Regions from separate parts of the Homo sapiens genome. Here region 2 is linked to region 1. The links are contacts of gene promoters, found by promoter capture Hi-C in blood cells and fetal thymus (Javierre and others, 2016). All regions are on one chromosome and are shown on one strand. The core of a region is centred on a gene start or on the middle of the fragment in contact, and the rest is flanking DNA. Distances in the headings are between cores, read along the strand shown. Region 1 holds the start of CDK14 (cyclin dependent kinase 14). Region 2 overlaps AKAP9 (A-kinase anchoring protein 9).

Region 1 (3,025 bases), core at 356-2,855:
TGGTTTCATACCATAACTTTACAGTCATCTGGGGAAAGATTTTGCATACCAACACAAAATTTTAAGTCGAAAGACAAAAAAAAAAAAAAAAACTTGGCTAAATTTCGATCCATTGTACTCTCTCACTTGAAGAAAGTTTGCATATCTTACAATGAATGGGTGGAAGGATATCTGTAACACTCATGTGCATCCCAGGGTTTTATTTTAAGGAATTAAGTACCTTTATGTTTAATTTCCATTAACACTTTCGTTAACATGGATGACATTTAAAACAAGTGAAACAAAGACTAGGCAGCTTCCTAGGGACTCGCAGGGGTTATCTTTTGTGTCTATAGCATTCTCTTGCTCAGGGCAGTTACATGTTATTAGTGAAAGTTGTGACAGTAGGGGAGGCAGCTAACTCTTCAGGTTAAAAGGGGTTTTCTATGCCCAGTACTCAAAATCTAACAAACCCATTCCACGTGATACTGCTGTCACCCTATTACAACCTGTGACATGCATTTATTCGTCACTGTCCTAAACACTGTTGGTCAGTTGGTTTGTTGTTTGGTTTAAAGACAACAGCCCCTGAGCTCTATTAAATGGAACAAGTTCGAGAGACATTCCTAAATGTCCAGACAACTCCACAGCGCGCATTTCTCTCCAGCAGCGGGAAGATTCAGAGACCTCGAGACTGAACACCCAAATCTCGCTTTCCAGGACCCGAAGTACCGAACAATAGGTCCCAAGGTAACTGTCCCACTTCCCTTTAGGTTGGATACGTTAAACAATACCAGGGCACAGTCTAACGTTTCACCAATTTCCAAAGCTAAATTACTGACTAAACGCCCAATATCCAAGCCTGTGCGCAAAAAATAACAAGTGGCCCAAGCAGCCGCGCAGCCCCTTGCGCGGTGGGGGCCGAGGGGTCCCCTCGCCCGTCCCCCACGCGCGCGAAAGGGCGAGCACTAGTGGCGGAGGAGGGGAGAACCCATATTGTAGGCTTGAGAGAATCTACAAATGAACCCCCAGATCCTGAGGAAGAGGGGTCTCTTTCCTTTACGTCCTTGCCCTCCCCCGGGTCCCTAGCACTGTGCCCTCGATCCCCGCCTACAACGCACCCCACGCCAGCCCCGCTGGCAGCTGCATGGCTGGTGCCAGGAACGCGGCGGGGGCGCAGGCCGAGGGGAGCGGGCGCTGGGGGGGCCGGGGGCAGCGCGCTACTCACCAATGCGACTGAAACTCTCCGACAAAGTTCTCCGCAACTTCTTCATCTTGCCGATCTTCTCGGCCGGCTGCGGCTCAATGAGGTCACACATCTGGGCGACGCGGAGCCCCGACAACTTCCCCAAACTGGTCCAGGCACAGCTCAGACAACGGCGAGGGCGCGCGCCGCGGGGAAAGCGGCGCCTCCTCCTCCACCACCTCCTCGGCGGGCCGGGAAGCGACGCGCAGGTCTAGGGAGGCGAGCAGCAGGCAGGCGGAGGACGGCAGGCTCCGCTCCGGCCTGGGCCGCAGCTGGGCGGGCGGGGGCGGTTTACGTGGTGCCGGGGGCGGCCGCGCTCGCCGCCGCCGTGGTGGCCCCGCGCCGCGCCGCCGCCGCCCGGCTCATTTTCCCTCCTTTGTAACGGAGAGAAGCGCGGCCGGCAGGGGGAGTGGTGCGGCCGAAGGAGGAGGCGGGGCGGGCCGGGTACAAGGTGCGGGAGTCGCCTGGCGCCGAGTGCGCGGGGCGAGGGCGAGTGGGCCGGCGGGAGAAGTTCTCAGCCCAGAGTTGCGGGCGCAGCGCAGAAGGAGCCGCGGCGCGGAACCGCCAGCCTGACAGCTCCTGCTGCCCTCCTGCTGCCGCCGCCACGCCCCTCCCTCGACGAAGGCCCCTGGGCGCGGGATCCTAGCACGACCTCGGCTCCCCGCTCGCCTCCCGCGTCCTCCGCGGCCCTCTGTGTCTGGCTCGCGCCCCGGCGGCGCCCCCTCCCGGCCGCGCCCCTCCCGGCCGCCCCCGCGCTCCTCCCCCGCCCCGCCCGCGCGCGGGAGGATCACGAAGGGACCGGGGTGGGAGCGGGCAGCGTCTGGGGACAGCGTGTTGGGCTGTGGGGAGGTTACCGAAAGGAAACGGGCCGAGTCCAGTTGTTTGAGCGGTTTTCTCCTTCCACGAGCGTGTGTGAAAAAGCGCGGAGTTCGGTGGAGGGCAGCTGCCAGGACTGCCTCCTGGACTGGGTGCGGTAAGGCCTTAGGGATGCATTCAGATGTAGGGTGCCTTATTTTGGGCCGAGAAAGCTGTCAAGTGAAAGATCCAAGGGGAAAGGTGGGCCTGGATTTTTTTGTTGTTGTTTGCGGTGGGTTTTTTGTTTGTTTTGAGGTCAAGTGCAGAAGCAGCGGAAGCTTCAACTGTAACCCTCCAGAAGGCAGGGATCATGCTGTTTCCCTCATCCTTGTCTCTGATCTTGGTGACACATGTAGGTGATTTCTGATAGGAATACCCAGTTCTGCAGTAAATAGCAGACACAGCCCTTGGTCTTTTTCTATTAAATTCTTAGAATATATTTCTGAATTGGGAGATTTAAAGGCTAAACAGATTCCGACCTCCTTTTCCCCCACCTCAAAAACAGAACTTTAAAAAGGAGTGGGGGAGGTGTTTATAAAATCCCAGGACAAACAGTTCCAGCAGCGAACACACATCGTCTTCATTCTGAAAAAACCTGGTGCGGCGTGAGTTCCAAACGTCAGTCTCCCAGGGGAGAGAGAAGGAAGGTGGGGGAGGGCTTGATTGTGTTGATCTGAGGCCAGCAAACTCCTTATGAATAGAAACGTTAGTAATCTTGAGTCATTTGGCTGTGTAAGTAATAAGAGCTTGTGAGGGTGTGACAATGCTGTTTGGCTTGTAGGAAATTTTGGGGAGTTTATGTTTTGTTAAAAGATTTTTATCTTAAAAACTAGCCCCCTGCCTTCCTTAAATTGTGAGGTAAAACAGTGATTTGTTCCGCCCTACACTGAGCACATTGTAGGATCTTGATAGATTGCGGATGATAAAAGACAGGAAGTCAAGCTA
Region 2 (3,025 bases), core at 132-2,631, 1.4 Mb before region 1:
TATTTTTAAGTTGTATATGAATAGAAAAGAGTTTCTGTAACTTTCAGCCAAAACTCATTATTTCATATATAAACTCCTAGTAGATATTTCCTAATGCAGTTTTAACATATTTTCTAATATCTTGCCATTTAGAAGAAGATCTACTAATTTATTTGGCTCTCAAGAAATGGAGTAGAGGATATAAACGGCGTAAGAATTAACTGAGATCTCTGCCCCATGCCCACTGCAATCCCCACAAGGTCTCCACACACAAAATTTGATTCATGATACATATGGAGAACTACTATTTTAGTTATAATTGATCCCTGTCACTATCTTCTCTGGGGAAACAACTAATAAGGCAATACTAACTTGAATAAAAGTGAGACCCTAGCCTGGACGTTGTGGCTCACGCCTGTAATCCCAGCACTTTGGGAGGCCGAGGCAGGCGGATCATGAGGTCAGGAGATTGAGACCATACTGGCTAACACAGTGAAACCCCGTCTCTACTAAAAATACAGAAAAATTAGCCGGGCTTGGCAGCGTGCACCTGTGGTCCCAGCTGCTGGGGAGGCTGAGGCAGGAGAATGGCGTGAACCCGGGAGGCAGAGCTTGCACTGAGCCGAGATAGTGCCACTGCACTCCAGCCTGGGTGACAGAGCAAGACTCTGTCTCAAAAAAAAAAAAAAAAAAAAGTGAGACCCTGGAGGAATAAATACAGCCTAACCACAGAGCCCACAATGAGCAATCCTAGTAAACAACAAGGAATTTTATAGTGTGTTCAGTACTAATAGGAGAGAGAGCCTAGATTTTATACCCTATTAGTTTTTCAGAGATCTGTAAATCAGAGAACCTATGAAATCAATCTTTACAGATTAGGACTTTGTATAGTAAAGTTGATTATAGTTCTGAATCATCAAAACAATAATCTTGGGGGCTTTAAGAAATTATTTCTTAAAAGGGGGAAAAACTCTTAGACTTTTACAGAGAAACTTTCACACCACACAAAAATCTCAGAGAACAGTAAACCACAATAAGAATCTTAACTCTGATGGTAACTGAAAACAAACACTACATTGTTAGTGAACAAGGAGGAAAAAGGAATTTTACATATTACAAAAGAATCTATAAATTTAAACAAAGAACCTAAGCAAAACTACTCCTGAAATAATGTTAAATTTTTGAATACTCTGAATATTGAACACTTTTGAATACTGTTAAACCCATGCAAAAATCAACCAAAGCTTTATGCAATGTACCTAGAAGGGCACTAAGTGTTGTAAGTTACAGTTTGGTGATGACTAAGACAAAAAATAAAAGGGGTGTCAATATGACAACAAAGACATCTCATACTAGTGAAGTAGCTACAGATCCCCCATGTTTAAAATGACAGGTCTTTTCATTTTTGAACACTAAGTTACTTTTTTCTCACAGTGTAAATGGACTGGCAATGATCAAGCCAAAAATCCAACAGGTGCCCCTTTAACCAACTGCATGCACTTGTAAAACAGCTGCTCATGGAATGGAATGACTCACTGGCCAACAAAGAAATCAAGCTTCAGCATCATGCTGTTATCAACTCACCAAGAACCTATCACTCAAAGGAAGCAACAATTTAAATTTTGGCAAAGCCCAAAAAGCCTAAAAATATATATATATGGAAGATAATCCCACTGGGGATACGTATTTCTACCCATTCCTCTCTGGTGCTTGAGTGCACACGTTCTCTCTCTCTCCACACATACGGAAAGGATATATATATATTTTATATACATATATAATTAATATTAGATAAAAGAAGTTGGTAACAACCCAATTAAAAAATGGGCAAGGGATATTAATAGACATTTCTCTAAAGAAGATCTACAAATGGGCTAGGCGCAGTGGCTCAGGCCTGTAATCCCAGCACTTTGGGAGGCCGAGGTGGGCAGATCACCTGAGGTCAGGAGTTCAAGACCAGCCTGGCCAACATGGTGAAATCCCATTTCTGCTAAAAATACAAAAAAATTAATCGGGCATGGTGGTGGATGCCTGTAATCACAGCTACTGGGGAGGCTGAGGCGGGCAGATCACCTGAGGTCAGGAGTTCAAGACCAGCCTGGCCAACATGGTGAAACCCCATCTCTGCTAAAAATACAAAAAAATTAATCGGGCATGGTGGTGGATGCCTGTAATCCCATCTACTAGGGAGGCTGAGGCAGGAGAATCACTTGAACCCAGGAGGTGGAGGTTGCAGTGAGCTGAGGTTGCGCCATTGCACTCAAGCCTGGGAGACAAGAGCAAAACTCCATCTCAAAAAAAAAAAAAAAAAAAAAAAGAAATCTACAAGTGGCCAAAAAGTGCATTAAAAGATGATACTCAATATCATTATTCATTAGGAAAATACAAACCAAAACCACAATTAGAAACCACTTAATACCCACAAGGATGAGTATTAAAAAAACAAAAAAACAAAACAAACAAACAAAAAAAACAGAAAACACAACTGTTAATGAGGTTATGGGAAAATTGGAATGTCCTATACATTGCTGATGGGAAGGTAAAATGGTACAGTCACTATGGAAACAGTTTGGCAGTTCCTCAAAAAGTTGAAATATAACTACCATATGACCTTGCTCAGTTCTACTACTAGGTATATACCCAAGAGAAATGAAAACAGGTACTCAAATACATCCATACAAATGTTCACAGCAGCACTATTCACAATAGCCAAAAGACAGAAACAACCCAAATGCCTATCATTGGACAAATTATGGTATATACATACAATGGAATATTATTCAGCCATAAAAAGGAATGAAGTACTGATATATGCAGCAAAATGGATGAACCTTGAAAACATACTAAGTGAAAGAAGCCAGACACAAAGGGTCACATATTATATGATTCCTTTCATATTAAATATCTACAACTGGTAAATCCAGAGAGTGCGTTGGTGATTGTTAGTGGCTAGAGGGAAGAAGCAATGAAGAATATCTGCTTAATGGGCACAGGGTTATATTTTGAGATGGAAAGATGTTTGGGAAGTAGACAGAAGCAGTAGTTG

The links. Contacts are between HindIII fragments. The CHiCAGO score rates a contact against its expected background, and 5 or more counts as called.
Region 2: a fragment that was not itself captured here is called in contact with the fragment with the promoter of CDK14 in region 1 in 1 of 17 cell types (total B cells); the score reaches 5.2 in total B cells.

The regions. Positions count from the first base shown.
Region 1 is chr7:90,594,901-90,597,925 of GRCh38, reverse strand. It overlaps CDK14 (cyclin dependent kinase 14), which reads right to left and starts at 1,605. Exons shown (of 15, transcript NM_001287135.2): 1 at 1,208-1,605. The coding sequence starts at 1,298. RefSeq lists silencers at 968-1,017, 1,078-1,277, 1,468-1,777, 1,798-1,997. The HindIII fragment of the contact is 4,165 bases long and covers 1-2,360 here.
Region 2 is chr7:91,947,877-91,950,901 of GRCh38, reverse strand. All of the region lies in intron 1 of AKAP9 (A-kinase anchoring protein 9), which reads right to left. Among named protein-coding and RNA genes, the nearest start is that of AKAP9, 8.5 kb to the right of the region's middle. The HindIII fragment of the contact is 312 bases long and covers 1,226-1,537 here.